Linked DNA regions of Homo sapiens: regions 1 and 2 are each linked to region 3. Evidence: promoter capture Hi-C in human tissues and cell types (Jung and others, 2019). All regions are on one chromosome and are shown on one strand. Each heading gives the region's core, a stretch centred on a gene start or on the middle of the fragment in contact. The rest is flanking DNA. Distances are from core to core; before and after follow the strand shown.

The links. The method cuts DNA at HindIII sites, captures the fragments that hold promoters and counts their contacts. A contact is called where the count stands out against the background at its distance.
Region 1: a fragment that was not itself captured here is called in contact with the fragment with the promoter of SRP54 in region 3 in 1 of the 25 tissues and cell types used here (hippocampus).
Region 2: a contact is called between a fragment that was not itself captured here and the fragment with the promoter of SRP54 in region 3, in 1 of the 25 tissues and cell types used here (heart left ventricle).

The regions. Positions count from the first base shown.
Region 1 is chr14:35,503,996-35,508,345 of GRCh38, reverse strand. No RefSeq gene overlaps it. Among named protein-coding and RNA genes, the nearest start is that of INSM2, 28 kb to the left of the region's middle. The HindIII fragment of the contact is 3,476 bases long and covers 1,082-4,350 here.
Region 2 is chr14:35,690,404-35,695,327 of GRCh38, reverse strand. The region is part of intron 17 of RALGAPA1 (Ral GTPase activating protein catalytic subunit alpha 1); the gene reads left to right. Among named protein-coding and RNA genes, the nearest start is that of SNORA101B, 70 kb to the left of the region's middle. The HindIII fragment of the contact is 3,370 bases long and covers 787-4,156 here.
Region 3 is chr14:34,979,814-34,984,671 of GRCh38, reverse strand. SRP54 (signal recognition particle 54) reads right to left here and starts at 1,680. Exons shown (of 16, transcript NM_003136.4): 1 at 1,457-1,680. It overlaps SRP54-AS1 (SRP54 antisense RNA 1), which reads left to right and starts at 2,106. Exons shown (of 5, transcript NR_151701.1): 1 at 2,106-2,248. RefSeq lists enhancers at 1,210-1,469, 1,500-1,999, 2,180-2,269, 1,660-2,361, 2,480-2,529 and a silencer at 3,415-3,709. The HindIII fragment of the contact is 37,786 bases long and covers 1-4,858 here.

The DNA of each region.
Region 1 (4,350 bases), core at 1,570-4,069, 520 kb before region 3:
GAGAAAGAGAGAAAGTATTTGGGAGGCCAAGGCGGGTCGATCACCTGAGGTCAGGTGTTCGAGACCAGCCTGGCCAACATGGCAAAACCCTATCTCTACTAAAAATACAAAAATTAGCCAGGCATGGTAGTGGGCGCCTGTAATCCCAGCCACTCGGGAAGCTGAAGCATGAGAATCGCCTGAACCCAGGAGGCGGAGGTTGCAGTGAACTGAGATCCTGCTACTACACTCCAGCCTGGGCAACAGAGCAAGACTCCGTCTCAAAAAAAGAAAGAAAGAAAAGAAAGAGAAACATTCCCATTATAAAACATGCATGCAAATCATTAATCATAATATAAATTTATAATTGAACTTTGAAATTTCAAGTTTTACCTGAAATAACTTCTCTATTAGTAGTTTCTACTTCATTGGAGAATTTTTTTAAGTGATTATTACCTACTAGTTTATCCTGAGTAGGTAAAGCTACAGTAACTGAAAGAAGGCCTGTTTTAGGATCAGATCATCAGTCATATATGCCATGTTAATAAGATGATGCCAATTGGGTTTCTATGATGGGGCTTAAATAGGCAATATCAGCCTTGACCAGATTTGTTAGTCAATTTTTTCAGAAAAGAAAATCCTATAAAGGAAAATACTAGTCTTCTTGTTGGTCTTGGTGCTATAATCAGGCTTAAAAATACTAAGCTTTAAAAATATTTGAATGTACCTTCTTTTTCACAGTCATTCAGCAAAAATTCATCGGACACCTACTATGGAAATATAAAGACATATAAGTCACAATCCCTGCACTCATAAGAGAAAGAAAATAGCTAAGTGTATTACATGAAAAGTACCATAATAAAAGTCATTTAAAGTCCTATGACAGCATTAAGGTGGGAGTACTCCCCTCAGTTCCTCAAGCTTCACAGAGGAGTGAACATTTGTGCTATATCTTGAAAGATGAGTAGGAATAAGGTAGTCAAACTAAGAGAAAGGATTGGAGAGTAATAGGGTACCTCAAGCACCAGTAGGGCATGCTGTCATGGGGGTGCATTACTCTCCACTCCAGTTGTTTCCTTTCTTGTCAAGGGACATCCATTAGAGCAATGGTCCTGGACTCTTTCCATCCCTTCACTCATCATTTCTTCCCAGTTGTAGAGGAATTGCTTATTTTAACTAATGAGTTAGGGAGCAGGAACTTGGTATGCTTGACTCAGCCTCAGCCACTTCCTTCCTCCCTCCTCTGTCTGATAGACCTGGTCTGCTCTTGGCCTTACATAAGCTTAGAAATAATTGGTTGCTTATGAGAGATGAGGCCAGTAGTTATCCTGTTCTTCCTGAGACAGGATGGGTAAGTATGTCTAATTCTGGGCTTCAGAATTAAGAAGGCTTTTAGTTTCCATATATAAGCCACATTCTCCAATCTAGGCATTGTTGGTAATAATAGTGATATTTTGTTCTCAAACTGCCTCCTTCAGTTGGTTTAGAACTCAGGCAAGGAACTGGGATGCTATTTGTCGTCCACCCCCTCTTCTCCCCCAAAAAGAAAAACCCTCAAGTAATGTAGAGGCCTAGAGCCATGAAAATCGTGTATTCAGAGTGTTGAAGCATAAAGTGATTGAGAGGAAAGGTGAGAAATGAGACTGGAAAAGTGAGGCCGGATTGTGAAAGACACCAAGCCTTGACAGGAATTCGCTGAAACACTTTGTTACAATGTATAAAGATGGAGATGATATGTCGGAAACTGGCCAAATGCCCAAACAGAGCTTCATTAGATGCGATCCCTTGCTTCTCAGACAGTGACTTTCCAGCTTTATTAAAGTACATTAGAATCATTTGGAAGCCTTGGTAAAATGCAGATCTTGAGCCTCATCTTTAAAGATTCTGATTTAGTATAAGTACAATATGAGTCTCAGGAATCTGTATGTTTAACAAGCTCCCTAGATGATTCTCATGCCATAAATTTTAACTTTTCTTGGCGAAATACTGTTCGAGGGTCTGAGCTAAAACTTTATCATTCTAGAAATTCAGTTTTGTCAGAATAGTCAAAAATGTTCAGATTCATAATCAAGCCCCTGAGATACTTAAATATAAACTAGAGTGCTGACTGATTTAAGTTTAATGCTGACTGATTTAAGAATTAATTAATTAAGAATTTAAGTTTAATGCTGACCGATTTAAGAATTAATTAATTAAGAATTTAATGCTGACTGATTTAAGAACTATAGCTTTAAAAGGACTGGGGTCCTTGGGGCTGTAAAGAACACATCCTCTCTCTGTGGGAAAATCCATATGGGAAGCCACACTGTAACCAAAGATTGCTTGATCACTTTGGATTCATGGCAGTGAGAGTTAGTTGGATCACCATTACTAATGGCATCAAGCTTGTCTGATGTATCCATCTTCACTGTTGAGAATAGACTTGCAAAGGGGATTGGAAGCTGCTAAGGGGAGTGGAAGTTGCTTCCTCTGCCCAGGGCCATGCTGAAGACACACTGAGAAATTCCTGCTCTTGGCCTCTCCTTTTTCTAGTCTCCTTTTTTAACACATTTTTCAGGTAAGATTAAATATAATTGACAAGGTTAAAGATTTAGATATACTAATACAGACACATTTTCTTGAAAATATACTTGTTACCTTGAAAAGAGTTTAGATGCTCCTAGAACTCTACCATTCACAGAGTATTGGTTAGGACTAAATATTTCTATAAATGAATATAAGCTTCATGATGTCAGGGACCTTGACTTCTGGTTCACCACTTTATCCCAAGTGCTTAAAATAGTACCTGACATAAAAGAGTAGTCAATAAAATATATATTTTTGAATAGATGATTAGCCTCATCTATTACATTTTTATTCTTTTCATTTTAATTTTTATTCTCAGAGGCAAACCAATTCCAAAATCTGGGGCTACCTTGCCCCTGCCGCTTATGAATTAACCACACACCTCGACGAAATGCCTAAAGCAAAATCAGCTGCTTTAAAAAAAAAAAATTTGGTTTTTTGTTTCTCACTACTACACTAATGAGGATTAAATTTTTTGCCTTTGTTACACTTTTGTGATTGGGATGTAACATGTTGTCAGAATCTGTTTTCATTTTTACCATCAATCTCTGAGTTTATGTTTTGTGAGTTCCCAACTGGTTAAAAAGAATAGGAAGTCTCTGCTTGCTCAAGAATAAAAAAGAAGAGAAATGGAGATGACTAAATACCATTTCTTCTAGTATTTGTGATAGCCAGCTAAATCTAACGACTTTTTCCTTGACGTGTAAGTGAATATCACCAACCTTCTTCAGAAAAAAAATGTGAGGGGAAGTTCTTTAGCTTCTGAGCTTAAGAAATGTTGATAAATATTTGAAAATTCAACTAATTAAAAATGAAATGCAGCCAGCTAAGCTCCAGTCATTTTTAATTTACAATATTGCTTTGCTTTCGAGGCAATGTAGACAAGTCACAACTTCTTTTGATGCCTGAGGGATTGAAAAAATTAAATCAGCAGGATTGGCTATTGATGTTTTCTAGCAAATGTTTTGAAATCTCTGCCTTTCATCCATCTTGTAGGAAAATAGGATTGCTTTCTGAGCCTTCAAAGATATTAATTCCTTTAATAAATCCTTACTTATGTGTTGAAAACTTCCCACAGTTAGGTTTCTGTAGCAATCTCTACATCGGGGTAAATGTTGCCCGCAGGCAGACTCCCAATTTTTTTTCCAAGTATCATCACTCTTGGTCTGAAACTGGGGCTAACCAACATTACAACAGATTAAACATACCTTCTGTTCAGCCTCTTTTCATAAGATTTCTTTATTATATTCTTTGCAAGGCAAATTTCGTGACAGGCTGTTTGCCTTCCTGGTGATCAGCACTTAATGAGATAAAGCACAAACATAAGCAGTGACTGTCCCAGTTTTGTACTTTGATCCCTGCCTCTCTAACCAATGTGAAAAAAGATAGAGAGCTACCTGAGATTCTTAAAATGCAAAGAATATTTGTCATATAGTAAACCAATCAGAGCTTCATTCAATAACAAGAATAAAAATTGAATATAAGAAGTTAAAAACAAAGCATAGATGTGTGCATGCATGAAAGGTGGGCTTGAGGGGGAAAGGAAGTTGACCATATTGTGAAGATTTTGTGTAGAGCATCTATCTATTTCTCTAATACTTTTCACAACAACAATTGTAGAAAGATAGTAGAAATGAGAAGATAGTACCAAAACTATCAGATGACCCTCTTGAGGACAGCATTATTTCAGAGAGTTTCTTTTATTAAAAGGAGGAAGCATTTATGATGTTGGTTTAAATGTTGTTCTGAGACATTCTCCTTGAAATTCCTGCTTAAGGGATTTAATATTAATGTGCCTCTGCTTAA
Region 2 (4,924 bases), core at 1,222-3,721, 710 kb before region 3:
GTCATCAGTGTAGAATAGGATATTAATATTTTACATATTTTCCACTTGTAATCTGCTGATTATAGCATAATTCCAATTAGATTTTTTTTTTTTAAGAGATAGGGTCTCATTGTGTTGCCCAGGCTTGATTGCTGTGGTGCCATCCTAGCTTACTGCAGCCTGGAACTCCTGGGCTCCAGCATTCCTCCCACCTCAGCCTCCTGGCAAATTAATTTTTTTTTCCTGGAATAATTTACGTTAATTTTTTTGAGACACAGTCTTGCTGTGTCGCCCAGCCTAGAATGCAGCGGTGCAATCTTGGCTCACTGCAACCTCCACTTCCTGGGTTCAAGCAATTCTTGTGCCTCAGCCTCCCGAGTAGCTGGGACTACAGAAGTCCGCCACCATGCCTAGCTAATTTTTTTTTAATTTTTGGTAGAGATGGGGTTTCACCATGTTGGCCAGGCTGATCTCGAACTCTTGACCTCAGGTGGTCCACCCACCTGGGCCTCCCAAAGTGCTGGAATTATAAGTGTGAGCCATTGCGCCTGGCCTGCATTAATTTTTTAAAAAGAACATCTCAAGAAAAATGTGAAGCTAACTTAAACATGACATTATATAGCATAATCATAAGCAAAACACTATACTTTTCTTAACATAAAAAATGTATTGGTAGTTTATGTTCAAAATTTTAAAATCAGGAAAACAATATTAGAATAAAAGAGAAGATAGTCGACTGGGCTAAATTTTAGTGGTTTAAATGAAAACTATTGAGCTTGATTTGTTGCTTTTAAGTCTTTTCATATGATTACAATAATGTAAAAACTGCTTTGAATTACCTGCAAATTGAACATCTAATCTTAAAAAGATAGAATTTTAATAGCCTCTGTTAATAATATTTGAAACATAGATGCTCTATCGTTTTTACTTACCTTGAAGTACATTGCCGTTGTTGCCCAAATAGACAAAAACTTAGGTAATTAGCAGAAAAAAACTGAGTTTCAAAATGGCATCAATTTCTATGTAAACTAGTTTAAATGATATTATGAATTTAGGGACCATAAAAATATTACTGATAGCTAACGTTCGTGCTTGACCAGTAAAATAATTTAACTTTAGTAAAGGGGATTTTGGCCCTTGATTCTATGATTCATTTCAGAAATTATTAAAATTTCTAGTGATATGTTAGTATTTTAACTGAAGAGTTTGTGAGTAACTAACTTGCTTTTTACCAATAAGCAGCTACTTTTTTTTTTTAAGGCGAGCTTTTCTTCTACCAGTATTTATTAAGCCCATACTTATGTGACAGGTCCTCTTTCAATCAATAGAGATATTGCAATGAACAAAACAAAAATCCTCAAGAGACTTAAATCTAGTGGAAAGGAGTACTTTTTTCTTAACATTTTATAAGCTGACAGTATACTTTAATGTACAGCTTTCCTTTCAAACTAACACAGGAAACTTTTTGAACAAAATATTTCCGGGAAAAAACCGGTTTTTTAATCTAGAAATAATTGACCCATTTTAATGCTAAACAGTATTAAGGAAACCCAGAGATAAAACTTGACATTTCTGTAACTTTATAGAGTTTTTAAACTCTAAATTTAAATTTATTTTACCAAAGCATTTTCTCAATGTTCAAAAGCAGTTTGTGTAAATCTCTTGAAAACAACGTTTTTATTGTTTCACTCATTAAGTGGTTTCTAATGCTTTAGATTAACATTTAATTGAAAAGACTATACTTTCAAGCATAATTTCTAAGGTATGTTAGTAGAGGAGTTTCTCTGAACATGGGTGATCGTTCTTCTCTTCCTCTGGGAGAGTAAGAGGACACAGTTGGTTTCCCTTAAGAAAAAGAAAAGAAAGAGAAAAATATATAAAATTTTATTTAAAAGCTTTCATTTTTTAAGTTAAAATATAAGAAGCATAATTAAATTGTTTTGAGGGCATTTTTATTTAAACCTGATGCCACCATTATTTTTAGCAATTCAAAGTTTTTTTATTGGTTCCTTCTGTATAATTTACTAACATTTGTTTTAGTTAGATTTTTATTTCTAACATTCTTATCTTTATAGAGATAAATCACTATGCTGCTCTGTGGTTTTTTTAAAATTCTTTTTTGTTTATATTGAGATATAACTAAAGCCTGGCTTTATGGTTTTTTAATAATACAATTAATTTTTACCAAGTTTTATTTAAAAATTAATAAATTATTTCATGAGTACAAAACATATATGATGTATTATTCAAGAGATTAAGAGTAAAGATTAATTTCTGCCTTACTTGACACCACAACTCCTCACTTTGTAGTTGTGTAATTTTGGACAAGTCACTTAAAGAGTTTCTTCATTTATAAAATAGGCATAGCACCTACTTCATGGGGTTGTTGTGAGGATTAAATGAATGATATGTCAGATGCTTACAACAATACCTGGCATGTGGAAAATACTATATATAGTTTAGTTATTATTTAGTCTTTTTCTCAGTAAAGTTCAGCTGTATATATTTGCTCAACTAATGTAAGGCTTATTAGAGTCAATTATGCTCAATTCAAGTGCCATTTGTATTGACATAATTCAGCCCTCTTGATCTGAATTTAGCATAAAGTTGGTTTCCTGTCAGTGTTATTTTCTTCTTTGATTTTATGTAGTTAGTATTATTATGTGCCATGAAAGAACTATATTTAAATCTTAAGAATTTTTAAAAACATTGTTTAAATTTAAATTCTCCGGTACTACAATATTGGTAGAAAAAAACCAGTTACATTTTTTTTTTTTAAAGCTCTTTCCCTCTTAAGCTTGCACAGAAGTTTTAGATAGTCATATATGGTAACAAGTTTTAGGAAAAAAAAAAAACATAGGCTGAAATAATGGTTACGTTTTCTAATATACAAGGAGTGAGGGCTGAGTTTGGGAAGGAATTCCTAAACACAGAACATCATAATAATCTTTCCTGGCTTCTTTAGAATGGAAAAATTGTGAAATATCTATAAAAGAAATTAAAAATTAAAACTAATATTTTATTTTTTTCTGACATTTGTACATTTGCTAGTGTCATAATGTTTTTATGATTTTAATGTTTTGAAATCTTGATTTTGACCTTTGGTAAAATAAATTCCAAGCTATAAAATTCGTAAGAATTCTTATAGAACAGCTATACAGTCTTTATCCTTTGCTGAGTTCTTTAGAATATTGTGTGGAAAGAAATTTAGAGTGCATGCTGAATATAATCTCTGTCATTGAGGCAGAAGTTCTTATGATCTCTTATGGCAGATGTAAAAAACCGAAATATTTATGTTTGTCAAGATGCACAGATATGAGTTAGTTATCTGCTGTATTAACAAACGCTTAATGAGTATAAGTGCATCAAAGTGAAGTTTGTAAGGAAATGTTTCGCTTTTCACTTAGAAAAATTTCTCAGTGGAGTGCATGAGGAAGAAAAACAATGTCATTTTTTAAAGTTGCACATTCCCCTCAGTTTAAGGACAAAAAGTTAATTGTTTCAGCTTCAGGAGATACTATATATTTAACCTATGTTGAGAGCCTACTAGTATATCACTAGGAATATACTAGAATCTTGGCATAATACAAACCTATGTTGATCTCAATTTAGTATAAAGTAGGTCCATTTGGACCTCATACAAATAGGGTGATATGAATGAAATTGCAGAGGGACTAGCCTTTTTTCAGCCATAGTAGCATGGATCCCAAAAATACTTTGAATGACTATCTCCATTTTATAAATGAGGAAACTAGTCTCAAAATCTAGAGTAAGAATCAACAAATTATTTTGTAATCTTGGACAAGTCACTGCTTTGCTTCTGGATCTAAATTTTCTCATTTTGATTGTTCAGTTATAGTTCTGTTGCATTTAACTTTTGTGCAAGAAGCCTAATAAGTAGCAACAGCTGACTTTTTGACTCTGTCCTTTCTTCATTATATTTTGCTGACTTCTGAAAACAATTTTTTTTTGTTATTTCTAGGTAACTTACAGACCATGATGGATTCATAGACATTGTATTTTGCTTCCACAATTCCTGTTGAGAATTTGTATATATCTGAACAGTTAAATGGTTATTTCATCCTGACACTGAAGGCAGTGAAAATAATGCAGTGATATGCAACACTAAGCCTGTTTCTCAAACTTTTTTATTGTAAATTTGATAAAGTAACTTAACCTCTCTGGGCTTCAATTTTCTCATCTGTGAGATAGTTAAATTAGATAATCTCTGAATGTCCATCTATAATAATAATAATAATTATTATTATTATTATTATTTGAGACGGAGTTTTGCTCTTGTTGCCCAGGCTGGAGTGCAGTGGCATTATTTCGGCTCACCGCAGCCTCTGCCTCATGGGTTCAAGCAGTTCTCCTGCCTCAGCCTCCCAAGTAGCTGGAATTACAGGCATGCACCACCACGCCCGGCTAGTTTTGTGTTTTTAATAGAGATGGGGTTTCTCCATGTTGGTCAGGCTGGTCTTGAACTCCCGACCTCAGGTGATCTGCCCACCTCAGCCTCCCAGAGTGCTGGGATTATAGGTGTGAGCCACCGCGCCCAGCCTATAATTCTTAAAAAGAGATGTAAGAAGCCAGAAATATAGTTTTTAGAGCTTGATGGCTGTTTAATGGAAAGGGCCAATAACAGGCAGGTAAAGTTTCTTCCTAGCAGATTTAAGTGGTGTTTTTGCCAAAAACAAAAGAATACAATTGATTTTTTAAAAAATATATTGACTTTATTTGATGTCAGTGAATAAGATTTTAATACGTAATAAAGTAAAACACCTGGGGAGAACAGTTTCCTGACAAAGAGAAATTTAGGAAGAGGGTAGAGACTTTCATTTCTAATATGTAATCAAACAGAGAAGCAAAATTTGAAGAAAAGATGCCTCTTGCCTTTTTGGGAAGGAAGCTGGAGAATTTATTAGACCCTATAAGAGTCTACAGT
Region 3 (4,858 bases), core at 431-2,930:
AAATTAGCTGGGCGTGGTGGCAGGCACCTGTAATCCCAGCTACTCGGAAGGCTGAGGCAGGAGAATTGCTTGAACCTGGGAGGCGGAGGTTGCAGTGAGCCGAGATGGTGCCTCGGTACTCCAGTCTGGGCGACAGAGCAAATAAGGTTTGGAAAAGAACAAGGTTTGGAAATGAAAAGAATAAGGTTTGGACATGGTTGGCATATAGGGACAATGCCATGGAAGCAAGCGAGAAGCCTCGAGGAGAGCCTGTGGAAGACCATTTGGGTTATAGCAATGACTGAGGGCCAACTAAAAGGACGGCGTTAACCAAGACTGAAAATAACCAAAGAGATAGGAGCTTTTACTAATTCCCTTTCCCTTTCTCCATGGCACATAGGAGAAAATCAATTTTTAAAAAGCTACATTTATGGTTATCTTACTGTAATCCTGTGGCAGGTCCAGAATTTCCAAATAGATGGGGACAGAGGAGTAATCTGGAAGGAAGACTTGAAGATGCTTTTGCATAGTACTCTATATTAAGGTAGAAAATACCAGTTGGCCATATCAAAAAACTGAGAAAAAGCGATTTGAGGGAAATATTTCCCTCCCCTTTGGCACCACGATTGCTGTATTCTAGGCACTAAACCAAACCAAACCTCTTACCTAATCTCCTTTCTTCCTCAAAACAAGCCTATTAAGTAGATGAGGAAATTGAGGCTAGATTGGAATAGAAACTGGCTCAGGGTCACAAAGCACCTAAGGAGCACTTTAGCTCTCCCACAGCTTTCTACAGCTCTTTATATGCAACTAGTGTTTCTCATTACCCATCTTGATATAATGTGTATTTATGTGCGTTAGCTTCTCAATGGCAGAGTTAGTGTTATTCATTTCTGTATCCTTGTAGCCAAGAACAAGTATATATTTTGTTAAATTAAGCATGTGAAAGAATCAGGTGAGGATAGCATGAAGAAAGGCAGCAGGGGAAAGTTTCAAGAAATGGATGGTCAGCAGCGTCAAATGGTACAGAGAGAGCTATCAGTCTATCTTAAATCATCATTGGCATTCAACTGATATTCCATATTCGTTTATTGAACGTCTACTACACGCAGGACATTGTGTTAAGCACTACAAACACATAGGAAAAATAAAAGTCTCGTACAAGTAAAAGGATTTTCGGGGAAGTAGCTTCATCTAAATTCTTGCTCAGGAAAGCAAAACGAAGACTCAGGCCTGCAACTGCCTACATCTTATTTGGCTCAGGTAAATCGGAAGACAACTCAAAAGGGGCACAGCGCATCTTTAATAAAACTTCTCATGGAAGACGAGATAAAGAGCCACAGAAACTCAGTCTCGGTAACGATGGCCGGTGGCCACGGAGGCCGACTTCCCCCGGAGTCTCTCGCCTCCTGAGCAGCGCTGGGGCTGCCCCTCGCTCCCCCTCCGTAGTCTGGGGCGGGAAAAAGCAGACACTTACCGCAAAAGACACCGCTAAAGCCGTGGCCCTGAGGGGCCGGGAATTCCTTAGCGAGGCCCCACGCCGTCGGAAGAAACCCAAGAAAGCTGGGAGCAGACAGACAGGTATGACCCCACAACCCAACTTCCCGAACTAGATAAAGTAGGGTCCCAACGCCCAGCACCACGTCGTCAACTCCCACCAGCTGGAAGACCAACGGAGTGCCAGCGAACCTTCCGCCCAATGAGGAAACGTCACCACTCCGCGTAGTCCAGCCTTTCTATAGGAGAATCTACTTCCGCTTCCGGGGCACACCGCCGCGTTCCTTCTACGCGGCTCCTGAAACAGTTTAGATGTTTACTTGCTTACACTGGTTTTTGGTTTCAGTTTCCTACCGCTGAATAACTGCAGGAGTAAAGTTAGTGGTAAAATAGGAGGCTGTCTAGGGACGTGATTTCGGGGAAGAAGTCAGGCCTCGACGAGCCACCTTAAGAAAAGTGACTAGGCGGAGCACTCCCAGCTAAGAGCGGAAAGATGAGAGATAGAGGTGTGACTGAAGGCAGGGATCCCCAGGCGCACGTGAGACCTCCGTAGAGGGGCGGGGCTTAGGGCTTTGCAGACCGGAGGCTTGTTCCGCGGAGGGTGGGGCGGTCTCTGCTTGCGCATGCGCAATGCCAGCCAGTGCCTGCGCGGCTTGCTCCAGCAAGGTAAAATTTCCCACTGCGAGGCAGGCAGTGATGCTGCGGCCGCTTCGCACTGTGGCTCCTGCCGACCGCCAGGCGCTGTTACAGTGGATGCGAACTAACCGTAAGTGTAAGTGACCAGAGCTAGAGGCAGGTGGTGGGGGCAAGGATATGCTGCAGGCGCTGACTTTGAGGACTTAAGCGGGGTGAAGCCAACAGCCTTCCTTGGGATCGTTGTGCTGGTCTCTGCTGTCTTGGGGGGTAGATTGACCAGGGCTTTGAGTGCTCTAACGGAAAAGAGAGTTAGTTGCTCGCCACACGTAGACACCAATTAACAAGAGCGAGCCCTAGTATACAAGAAGAGGGATTTTATTTCTGAAGCCAGCCCGCTTCGTCTTTGGAGCAAAAAAGCGGGCATTTTATAAGGTACAAGAGGAAATGAGCAAGAGGTCTCTGCTAGCTGGTGCCTTATCTACCGGGTAGTTGAGTTGGTGCATTTCTGAGCAGAAATAAGTTGTAAAAGTGGCCAAGTGGGCATGCTTTCTGCTTACCCTTCTGAGGCGACCGCCTGGCGGTGGGAGTTGCGTCTTGGATCTCGTAGATGAATTTGCTCTGTAGAGAATGGTCTGGTGAGGGGAGTTGAGAGGTTATTTTGCAGTTCAAAAAGGGCTAAGTGGAAAGTGTAGTGGGGAGGGGAAAAGAGGGGAAAAAATAAACTATCTCTTGGAAAATGGGGGTAATCGGATACAGTACCACTTGGAATTAATTGGGTGTGGGAAACCTGGTTCTGAGTGGTTTGTGAGTTTTCAGCAGACTTCGGACAAGCCTTTAGAGCTCCTTGTGCCTAACCCTTTTTCTGAAAGAAAATAGAGGGTTAGCCCTCCTCCCCATTACTCCCACAAACTTGTTAGAATTGGTACGTTGCCACCTGAAAAAGCATTTTGCAGGAGAGGTTTTAGGCTGTAGCGTTAGTAGGAAGTGTTAAACGAAAAACCTTAGCCAAGTTAAATTTAACATTTTGAGCAAAGAATGATTCACGAATCGGGCAGGCTCAGAGAGATTGCAGCGCAGCCAAGTGTTGAAGATTTATAGACAGAAAAAGGCTGCAGTGAGCTTTGATCCCGCTGCTTCACTCCAGCCTGAGCGACGCAAGACCCTGTCTCTTTAAACACACACGTTAAAACTGAGGAAATGTGGTAGCTAGATCTAGTTACTGAAAAATGGGATAGATGTATTCTGGCAAAGTAAAGCCTGATGAAAGCTCAAGAAAATAGGATATTCTTATGTTTGTTAACTATAGCAAACTATCCTATGCCTGTATGCGAGAGTGTGTGTGTGTGTGTGTGTGTGTGTGTGTGTGTGTGTGTGTATGTGTGTGTATTTATTTTTTGAGACAGAGTTTCACTCTTGTTGCCCAGGCGGGGCTGCAGTGGCGCCATCCAGCTCACTGCAACCTCCACCTCCCTGATTCGAGCGATTTTGAGTGGCTGGGATTACAGGCGTCCGCCACCACGCCCGGCTCATTTTTGTATTTGTAGTAGAGACGGAGTTTCACCATGTTTCCCAGGCTGGTCCCAAACTGCTGACCTCAGGTGATCTTCCTGCCTGGGCCTCCCAGAGTGCTGGGATTGCAGGCGTGAGCCACCACGCCTGGCCACTATGCCTGTATTTTGCTGAATGGTGATTTCCATGGTTATTTTTATCCAAGCTCATGACTTGAAATGTCATTGTTAGCTGATGACTTACAATTTTAGATTTTTAACCTCGACCTCTTAAAATTCTTTGTGATGTTAGAGTCAGTAGGTTTAGATATTATAATTAACATTATTACACATTTTAGGAGTCATTTTAGATAAGATGTCAAACTGAAGATAACAGGAACATCTGCTAGTGAGATTTGACCTGGAAAGTATAGAAAACCAGATACACAGCTTTGTTTATTTATTTATTTATTGAGACGGATTCTCAGTCTGTCGCCAGGCTGGAGTGCAGTAGCACGATCTTAGCTCATTGCAACCTCTGCCTTCTGGATTCAAGTGATTCTCCTGCCCCTGGAGTAGCTGGGATTACAGGCACGAACCACCGCGTCCAGCTAATTTTGGTATTTTTAGTAGAGACGGGGTTTTACTATGTTGGCTAGGCTGGTCTTGAACTCCTGACCTCGTGATCTGCCCTCCTCGTCCTCCCAAAGTGCTGGATTACTGGCATGAGCCACCGCACCCAGCCGGATACAGCTTTATTTCTATATACACAAAATCAAGATAATAATTTCCATAATATGCTGAGTCTCCTGTCACTTCATCTAAACCCTATGTTGCACATTTCTTTTTTGTTTTTGTTTTTGTTTTTGAGACGGAGTCTCGCTCTGTCCCCCAGGCTGGAGTGCAGTGGCGCAATCTTGGCTCACTGCAAGCTCCGCCTCCCGGGTTCACGCCATTCTCCTGCCTCAGCCTCCCGAGTAGCTGGGACTACAGGCGCCCGCCACCACGCCCGGCTAATTTTTTGTATTTTTAGTAGAGAGGGGGTTTCACCGTGTTGGCCAGGATGGTCTGGATCTGCTGACCTCGTGATCTGCCCGCCTCCGCCTTCCAAAGTGCTGGGATTACAGGCGTGAGCCACCGTGCTCGGCCGCACATTTCATTCTTCATATCCCATTTGTCAATAAAACAGCACCGATTTACATCTTTTTTTTCACATTCCTCAGCACAAGGTCATTTATTCTAAAAGCACTGAGTGCCTA